Regions from separate parts of the Homo sapiens genome. Here region 2 is linked to region 1. Evidence: promoter capture Hi-C in 16 types of primary human blood cells and fetal thymus (Javierre and others, 2016). All regions are on one chromosome and are shown on one strand. Each heading gives the region's core, a stretch centred on a gene start or on the middle of the fragment in contact. The rest is flanking DNA. Distances are from core to core; before and after follow the strand shown.

What was found. The method cuts DNA at HindIII sites, captures the fragments that hold promoters and counts their contacts. A CHiCAGO score of 5 or more calls a contact.
Region 2: a contact is called between the fragment with the promoter of CXorf65 here and a fragment that was not itself captured in region 1, in 4 of 17 cell types (megakaryocytes, M1 macrophages, total B cells and 1 more). The highest score is 9.2, in megakaryocytes.

What each region holds. Positions count from the first base shown.
Region 1 is chrX:70,997,269-71,003,207 of GRCh38, reverse strand. No RefSeq gene overlaps it. Among named protein-coding and RNA genes, the nearest start is that of SNX12, 68 kb to the left of the region's middle. The HindIII fragment of the contact is 397 bases long and covers 3,054-3,450 here.
Region 2 is chrX:71,104,275-71,108,066 of GRCh38, reverse strand. It overlaps CXorf65 (chromosome X open reading frame 65), which reads left to right and starts at 1,327. Exons shown (of 6, transcript NM_001025265.3): 1 at 1,327-1,535; 2 at 1,641-1,727; 3 at 1,930-2,067; 4 at 3,230-3,298; 5 at 3,663-3,769. The coding sequence starts at 1,511. It overlaps IL2RG (interleukin 2 receptor subunit gamma), which reads left to right. Exons shown (of 8, transcript NM_000206.3): 8 at 146-663. The coding sequence ends at 331. The HindIII fragment of the contact is 6,290 bases long and covers 1-3,792 here.

The sequences.
Region 1 (5,939 bases), core at 2,003-4,502:
GTTTTAAGCCCCACATGCATTGGGTATTTGTCTTAATGCTCTCCATCCCCCTGCCCCTTAACCCCCGACAGGCCCTGGTGTGTGATGTTTCTCTCTCTGTGTCCACGTGTTCTCATTGTTCAACTCCCATTTATGAGTGAGAACATGTGGTGTTTGGTTTTCTGTTCCTGTGTTAGTTTGCTGAGAATGATGGTTTCCAGCTTCATCCATGTCCCTGCAAAGGACATGAACTCATTCTTAAAAAAAGAAATTTTGTACACACACTTAAGTAATATTACTTAAAAACCTGTATATTAATAATGTAAGATAGTAAAGTTACTATGTAAGTAGTAAGGCAATATAAATAATAACAAAGCCTGAAACACAATTTTAAAAAATTGCCAGCATTTACTGCTCATAGTTGAATGAATAATGAAAGGACACTGTCTTAGTCCGTTCTCATGCTGCTTATAAAGACATACCTGAGACTAGGTAATTTATAAAGGAAAAAAGTTTAATGGACTCACAGTTCAGCATGGCTGGGGAGGCCTCAGGAAACTTACAATCATAGTGGAGGGGGAAGCAAACAAGTCCTTCTTCACATGGTAGCAGCAAGCAGAAGTTCAGAGCAAAGGTGGGAAAAAGCCCCTTATAAAACCATCAGATCTCATGAGAACTCACTCACCATCATGAGAACAGGATGGGGGAAACCGTCCCCCCGATTCAATTATCTCCACCTGGTCTCTCCCAGGACATATGGGGATTATGGGAACTACAATTCAAGATGAGATTTGGATGAGGACACAGCCCAACCATGTCAGACACAGTCAGAAGAAGAAAAAGCAAGGCAACAAACAAAAGGCTACTTACTGCCAAAGAGAAGTTTCAAAATTCATTTATATAGTGAACATTTATTGAGCACTTATAATGTGCTAAACACACTGAGATACAAAGATTGGTTAAGTCTTTCTTTTCTTTCTTTCTTTCTTTCTTCCTTTCTTCTTTCTTTTCCTTCCTTCCTTCTTTCCTTCCTTCTTTTCTTTCTTTCTTCCTTCCTTCTTTCCTTCCTTCTTTTCTTTCTTTCTTTCTTCCCTCCCTCCCTCCCTCCCTCCCTCCCTCCCTCCCTTCCTTCCTTCCTTCCTTCCTTCCTCTCTTTCTTTCTTTTGAGACCAATCTCACTCTTATTGCCCAGGCTGGAGTGCAGGGGCACCATCATAGCTCACTACAGACTCGAACTCCTAGGCTCAAGCAGTCCTCCCACCTCAGCCTCCCGAGTAGCTGGGACTACAGGCACACACCACCATGCCCGGCTGCAATATTTTATTTCTATCACCATGTATCTTACATCTAGTGGGGGATGATATTGTGTAAACAGAAATATTACATTCTAGTGTGGTAACTGCCATTGCAGAGTGGTGAACAGAGTGCTATGGGAACACAGAGAACAGAACAATCAACTATGTTTAATACACATTGCCTGTAGCATAGTGGTTAAAAGTTCAGGTTTTGAAGACCTATATTTAAATCCCACCATTTACTAGATGACAATGCTATTTAGCCCCTTTAAATCTCAGCTTTTTCATCTGTAAAATGATAATAGTAGTTATAGAATTGATTGAGGATTAAAATAAGCTAATGAACATAAATTGTTTAGCAAAACTCCTTGATAAATAATAGCTAGTTTGTCTTTCCCAAGAAGACACATACTAAAGGATGAGTAGGACATTGTCAGGTGAGGAAGAAAGAAAAGGACATTCTAAGAGGACAGGATACAATGTGTGAAGACATGGAGACATTATAGGGCCTGCTGTGTTTGTGGAATGGTGAGAAGCTTAGCATGCAGGAGTTTGGGGGTGGAGTAGAGCGTGAGGCTAACAACCTGGACTGAATCCTAACATGCTAGACCAAGGAGTTGTGTTTTATCCTGTAGGCACCGAGGAGTCAAAAGAGTGAGTTTTGTTTTGTAAAGATCATTTCGAAAGTAGTGTGGAAGTTGAACAGGTGTAGAATGGAGAGAGATTGGTGGCAGGACTACTTAGCAGACGTAATAGTCCAAGCTGGACATTATGAGAGTCTGAACCAAGATCGAGGCAGTATGGGGGAAAGGCTAGGCTTGACAGAATGATATTTATGAGTTAAAATCAACAGGACTGTATGCTGATTGATTAGATGTGCAGCGTTAGGGAGAAGGGATAATTAAGGCAAAAGCAAAAGCTTCTAGCTTAGGAACATGGCTTGCGATTGTGAATGAGAATGTAATTCAAGAATTTAGTAAATTGTGGCAGTAGAGAAGGTAAGTCTGATTTTAGACTAGTGGAGCTTAGGGTACCTCTTTGTAACCTGTAGGTAAAGATGCTTAATTGTAATTTGGAAATACAAATCTAGAGCTTAAGCAAGAGTTCGAGGCTATTATTAAAAATTTCCATGGATGAAATTGGAAATCATCATTCTCAGTAAACTATCGCAAGGACAAAAAACCAAACACTGCATGTTCTCACTCATAGATGGGAATTGAACAATGAGAACACATGGACACAGGAAGGGGAACATCACACTCTGGGGACTGTTGTGGGGTCGGGGGAGAGGGGAGGGATAGCATTAGGAGATATACCTAATGTTAAATGACGAGTTAATGGGTGCAGCACACCAGCATGGCACATGTATACATATGTAACTAACCTGCACATTGTGCACATGTACCCTAAAACTTAAAGTATATATATAAAAAAAAAAAAGAATAAAGCAACTTAGATTTAACTGTAAAAAAAATTTTGCAATCTGTCATTGTATAGATGATAGTTGAAGCTGTGTAAGTAGATAAACTTTGTTCCAGGTGGTGTAAGAAGATAAGAGACTAGGACATAACCCTAGGGAATCCCAATGAATAAGTGTTGAACAGAAGAGGGAAGTCTGAAAGGGAAAGGTAAGAAAAAAAAATGAAGAGACAGTAGTGTCATTTCTTCCCATTTCACTCCTTTCTTCCCAGAGGCCAAGAAGAACTTCTGGGAAATAAGAGCAACCAATCGCCTTAGGCTGTATAAATATGGGCCAATAAGTTCAGCAACTAGGAAGCTTTCCTTTAAAGTTTGTTGGAGTCACGGCAGAAGGCAGACTGCAGCAAATTGAACAAATGGACAGGGCGAAAGGACAGTGGTTGTAGATTAATTGTTCCAGAAATCTGGCTATGAAAGGAAGGAGGTAGAAAGGATGGTAGTTTGTAACGAGATAGGGGAGAAATAGTGTTTTAACTTTGTTTTAGAATGGGGAAACGTTAAGCCTGTCTGTAGGTATATAAGAAAATGTGGAAAATAGAAGAGAAAGGGGATATTTGATGGAATCAGAGTCTAGAGAGACAATCTTCCTTGTAGATTCTTTTGGTGACCACCACTTGTAAGTTGATTTAGGATGTTCAGAGTGTGGAACAAAGCCAGAGAAGAATCGAGAGGGAGTGAGACACAAAAGAACAAAGCTTGGAGTCCTGTTCATTACTTCCTTTTATGTTCTAGAGAATGCTTATCATAGAGAACAATCAGTCTTTCTCTGGGTCTCCATTTACCCTGTTACTTTGCCCTAGAAGATGTTATTCATTTCCCTGACTGAAACAGATGGTAGAAAATGCAACTCAGCTTACTTACTGTTAAAACAAACCATCTTTTTGGACTTTTATTATTTGGAATTTTCTTATAATAGTTATATTTATTTTAGAAATTTTAGATAATACAGATAAAAAATAAAAGAAAACTGGCAGCCCTACTCCCCAGGAATAATCAATATTAACATTTTGGTATATATTCTTTCAGTCTTTTTTCCCTTATCTGTAATAGGAGGAAAATATGCAAATAGCCAACCCCCATGGAACCACTTCCATAAGGCTTCTGTCAGATTCCAAATGTTCCCAAGGCTTCTATAGTACTTATGTAACAAGCCACACAGTGGATTGATTACTGTTAATGTATGTCCTCTGGGAGTTGCCAAGGAGGCTCACACTTTCAATTACTGTACATCCCAGATTTGAAAGCATATCCCTAACTATTTGTCTTAAGGATTTTAATTTTTTTCTTTCTTGCTACTGGATATAAGTGTCTAACAATTCTCACTGGGAATTGATTAGTGAGTAGGTATTGTCAGGTAACATGATTAATGCTGTAATAAGTATATAGGAAACTAAGAACTCAGAAAAAGAATTACTCATTGAAATTTTAATAATAACTGTCATTTAAGAGATGAGATTAACTATGTGGAGAAGTGGTTTACAACTGTGTTGCTAATGAAAACATAGGAAATAACCAAGTTAATCAAAGTGCAACTTTAGAACTGGGTGGTAACTTAAAAAAGCATTTCTGCCCTCCCTCAGCTGCAGGCATCTCGGCACAGAGACAGAGAGAGAGAGAGAGAGAGAGAGAGAAGAGAGAGAGAGAGAGAGACTCTGTTTGTTTGGGTAAAAGTAAGGGCAGAGAAAAAAAGTTTCTGTCTGGTAATCCAGAGAATTCTTTCGGATCTGATCCAAGACCACCAAGGCAGTACCTCAATGAGTCTGCAAGAGCCACAGTGTTACTGAGCTTGGGGTGCCCCCTAACGTAGATGTGACTACAGTGACCAAAAACTTAGATCACAACACCCAAAGTCCCTTCGAATACCTGGAAAGTTTCCCAAGAAGGACGGGTATGAACAAGCCCAGACTACAAAGACTACTAAACACCTAACATTTCAATACTTAGACACTGACGAACATGCACAAGCACGAAGACCATTTAGGAAAACATGATCTTCCCAAATGAACTAAATAAGGCACCAAGGACCAAGCCTGGAGAGACAGAGATATGTGATCTTTCGGACAGAGAATTTGAAATAGCTGTTTTGAAGAAACTCAAGAAAATTCAAGATAACACAGATAAGGAATTCAGAATCCTATCAGATAAATTTAACACAGAGATTTAAATAATTAAAAAGTATCAAGCAGAAATTCTGGTGTTAAAAAATGTAATTGACACACTGAAGAATGAATCAGAGTTTCTTAATTGCAGAATTGATCAAGCAGAAGAAAGAATTAATGAGCTTGAAGACAGGCCATTTGAAAATACATGGCCAGGCATAGTAGCTTATGTCTGTAATCCCAGCACTTCGGGAGGCTGAAGCAGGAGGATCACTTGAGCCCAGGAGTTTAAGACCAGCCTGGGCAACATAACAAGGCATCATTTCTATAAAAAATTTTTTTTTAATTAGCTGGGTATGGTGGCATGTGTGCCTGTAGTCTTAGCTACTCAGGAGGCTGAGGCAGGAGGATCACTTGAATCTAGGAGTTCAAGGCTGCAATGAGCTATGATTGTGCCACTGCACGACAGCCTGGGTGAAAGAGCAAGACCTTGGAAAAAAAAACCCACAGTCAGAGGAGACCAAAGAAAAAATAATAAAAAAGAATGAAGCACTCTTACAAGATCTAGAAAATAGCCTCAAAAGGGCAAGTCTAAGAGTTATTGGCCATAAAGAGATGGGAGAGAGAGATAGGGGTGGAAAGTTTATTTAAAGGGACAATAACAGAGAACTTCCCAAACCTAGAGAAAGTTATCAATACTTGAATTCAAGAGAGTTATAGAACAGCAAGTAGATTGAACTGAAATAAGACTATGATTTAATAATCAAACTTCCGAAGGTCAAGAATAAGAAAGGATCCAGGCTGGGCACAGTGGCTCATGCCTGTAATCCCAACACTCTGGGAGGCCAAGGTGGGTGGGTCACTTGAGGCCAGGAGTTCGAGACCAGCCTGGCTAACATGGTGAAACCCTGTCTCTACTAAAAATTAAAAAAAATATTAGCCAGGCATGGTGCCCTCCCCCTGCAGTCCCAGCTATTCAGGAGGCTGAAGCATGAGAATTGCTAGAACCTGGGAGGTGGAGGTTGCAGTGAGCTGAGACTGTGCCACTGCACTCCCTCTGTCTGGGTGACAGAGGGAGCCTCTGCCT
Region 2 (3,792 bases), core at 78-2,577, 110 kb before region 1:
TGGTATTGGGGGCCCAGGAGCCTGTGTATCCCTTCTGTAATCAATTACAGTGGTTGCAGACATCATGAGTACTCCTTTGGCACAGAGCTCGGTCTTTTACTTCCTGCCCCTAATTGACCCCTGACCTGGACATATCTGTCTTTAGGCCTGGAGTGGTGTGTCTAAGGGACTGGCTGAGAGTCTGCAGCCAGACTACAGTGAACGACTCTGCCTCGTCAGTGAGATTCCCCCAAAAGGAGGGGCCCTTGGGGAGGGGCCTGGGGCCTCCCCATGCAACCAGCATAGCCCCTACTGGGCCCCCCCATGTTACACCCTAAAGCCTGAAACCTGAACCCCAATCCTCTGACAGAAGAACCCCAGGGTCCTGTAGCCCTAAGTGGTACTAACTTTCCTTCATTCAACCCACCTGCGTCTCATACTCACCTCACCCCACTGTGGCTGATTTGGAATTTTGTGCCCCCATGTAAGCACCCCTTCATTTGGCATTCCCCACTTGAGAATTACCCTTTTGCCCCGAACATGTTTTTCTTCTCCCTCAGTCTGGCCCTTCCTTTTCGCAGGATTCTTCCTCCCTCCCTCTTTCCCTCCCTTCCTCTTTCCATCTACCCTCCGATTGTTCCTGAACCGATGAGAAATAAAGTTTCTGTTGATAATCATCAAAAATGTCTGTCATGGGGGTGGGGAGCAGGGGAAGCCTGGGATGCAATGAGGGTGGGAGGGGAAGAAAAAGGAGTAGTACATTCATGCTGTGGAGGCAGGAGTATTACCAATTTGCTAGAAAGAGTACTGTTCTGGAAACTGACTTTTTTCCAGGTGCCCTGCACTCATTCCAGGGTTTAGTTTAGAGTTAGACTTACAATGGGCTGGGCGTGGTGGCTCACGCCTGTAATCCCAGCACTTTGGGAGGCCAAAGCGGGTGGATCACGAGGTCAGGAGATCGAGACCAGCCTGGCCAACATGGTGAAACCCCGTCTCTACTAAAAATACAAAAATTAGCCAGGCGTGATGGTGTGCTCCTGTAATTCCAGCTACTTGGGAGGCTGAGGCAGGAGAATCGCTTGAACCCAGGAGGTAGAGGATGCAGTGAGCCAAGATTGTGCCACTGCACTCCAGCCTGGGCGACAGAGGGAGACTCCATCTAAAAAAATAAAAAAAATAAAAAAAGTTAGACTTACCATGTTGTCCCCCCTTTCCAACTAATCTTTAACATACCCCACCCAAGTTTTTCTCTCCTTACCCTTACTCCACTTTTTGGCCACACCTGCCACTTCTGACCTCATAATCCCTTAACTGCAGTCTCAGGCCCCACCCCTGGGGATACTGGTTATCCACAACTATCAACAGCTCTCTCCTGCCTGTCCAGCCTGGGCATCCTCAGCCTATGAAATCCATCTGCCTCTCTAGTCCACCAACCCTATAGGCCTATTTGCCCCACACAAGGCCTCTAGAACACCCTCCTTCTGCATGACTCATCAGGGCACTTTGTGAAGAGTGAGGCGATCTTGAGGGCATGTTCATCTTCATCAAACATGGAGGTGAGGGGCAGCACAGAACTAGAGTCTGTGGATGGGGGTGGAGGGATCTGAGGGCAGTGGAGATCACAGAAATGGGCCCATGTGTCCCATCCTATCTCTTCTCAGATAATCAGCAGTTTCTGGTCAATACCAACTGTGCTGTCGTCGTGTTGCTGTATTACATCCGCAGTAAAGTAAAGTTGCCTAAAACAAGTGAGGAGCTTAGGGAGGGGACTAATGGCCAAAGGTCAGAAGGAGTTGGGTCATCTCTAACCCCCAAGCCCTCCTCCTGGCAAGAAGGGAGTTCCTCATATCCTTAGAGCTTCCTCCAACCCATTTTGTATAGGATCACTGGCCCCTTTTGCTCCCACTCTCTTTCCTTAGCTGCCCCAATTACCCTGTGATCTCCCTCCAGACACCATCGATTTGTGTGAACAAACGGGGAAAATGAAGATGCTTTTCCTGATGAAGCCCAATCATGCAGAGTATGCCAGCAAATACCTTACAGCTCGAAGCACCTACTACGTTTGTAAGGTGGAACGTGGGCCACCAGGTAGAGGCTCAGGAGTGTTCCCCAGAAATAGAATAAGGCCTTCAAGATAGATTATGAACCTTATCTTTAAAACAAGGCATCCAAGGCTGGGCATAGTGGCTCATGCTTGTAATCTCAGCACTTTGAGAGGCCAAGGCGGGAGAATCGATAGAGGGCAGGAGTTTGAGACCAGCCTGGGCAACATAACAAGAGCCTGCCTCCAAAACCAAAACCAAAACCAAAAACAACCAAAACCAAATTAAAACAAAAAACAGAACACCCTCAAACAACAGAACACCCTCAACCAGATCCAAATTGACCATCTCTAGTCAGCCTAAGGAAGGGTACTGCCTCTATAATAATAGGTTACCTCACACATACTCTCCCCTAGGTCCATACCTAAGGGGAAGAAATATCCACCAGCTCAAGGTAGGTTTTTTTTTTTTTTTTTTTGGGACAGAGTTTCGCTCTTGTTGTCCAGTTGTCCAGGCTGGAGTGCAATGGCGCGATCTCAGCTCACTGCAACCTCTGCCTCCCAGGTTCAAGCGATTCTCCTGTCTTAGCCTCCTGAGTAGCTGGGACTACAGGCACCCGCCACCAGGCCCAACTAATTTTTTAGTGCAGATGGGGTTTCACCATGTTGGCCAAGCTGGTCTTGAACTCCTGACCTCAGGTGATCCACCCACCTCAGCCTCCCAAAGTGCTGGGATTACAGGCGTGAGCCACTGTGCCCGGCAAGGTAGTCTTTATTTTTATTTATTTATTTATTTTATTTTTTGTGATGGAGTCTTGCTCTGTCACCCAGGCTGAAACAGTGGCATGATCTTGGCTCACTGCAACCTCTGCCTCCTGGGTTCAAGTGATTCTCCTGCCTCAGCCTCCGGAGTAGCTGGGATTACAGGCGCCCACCACCATGCCCAGCTAATTTTTTTTGTTTGTTTGTATTTTTGGTAGAGATGGGGTTTCACCAAATTGGCCAGGCTAGTCTCGAATTGGCCAGGCTAGTCTGGAACTCCTGACCTCAAGTGATCCGCCCACCTTGGCCTCCCAAAATGCTGGGATTACAGGCGTGAGCCACCGCATCTGGCGGGTAGTCTTTAGTGTTAGGTCCTGGAATCTTGGACTTCTGAAGGGTGGAGACTGGATGACAGGGGCTGGAGATAGCACATGGCTATGTTCACAGGAACCAGGCTGGAGAATGCTTACAGAGCTTTTGTGCCTCTCCTCAAGAATCCGGAGCCTTGGCTGCTTGGTAAGAAGTGAGATGGGGGAGGGAAGAACATGAAGGGTACAGTATATAGCTGTGTGATGGAGAATGTAGGGTGGGACTAGCGTGATATGGTAGGTCAGATGATAGGAGCCTAGGAAAAGGCGGGCAGGGTCCAGGTCCACTTTAGGAGGGACGTTTAGCTCACACCAGGTGGAATGTGCATGCGTTACTCCCCACTTCCCCCATTTCTTGGCCATCTTCTCCGTATATCTCCCTGTCACCATTCCATCATTTCCATCTTAGGCCAAGTGGGGCTCCAGCTGATGGTTTGAACAATGAATGGGAGCATCAGGAAGGGTAAGGTCTCTAGTTCTCAGAGGTGCAGGTGCCTTTTCCTTGTTCTTAGTTGCACTGCGCATACAATGTGATGCCCTGGAGAGGAGACGAATTCAGATGCTTAAAATGAAAGAAGCCAAGAAGGTCGTTATAATTGAACCCCCTGCGAGTGTCCCGGTAAGACTTGCCAAATGTGATCT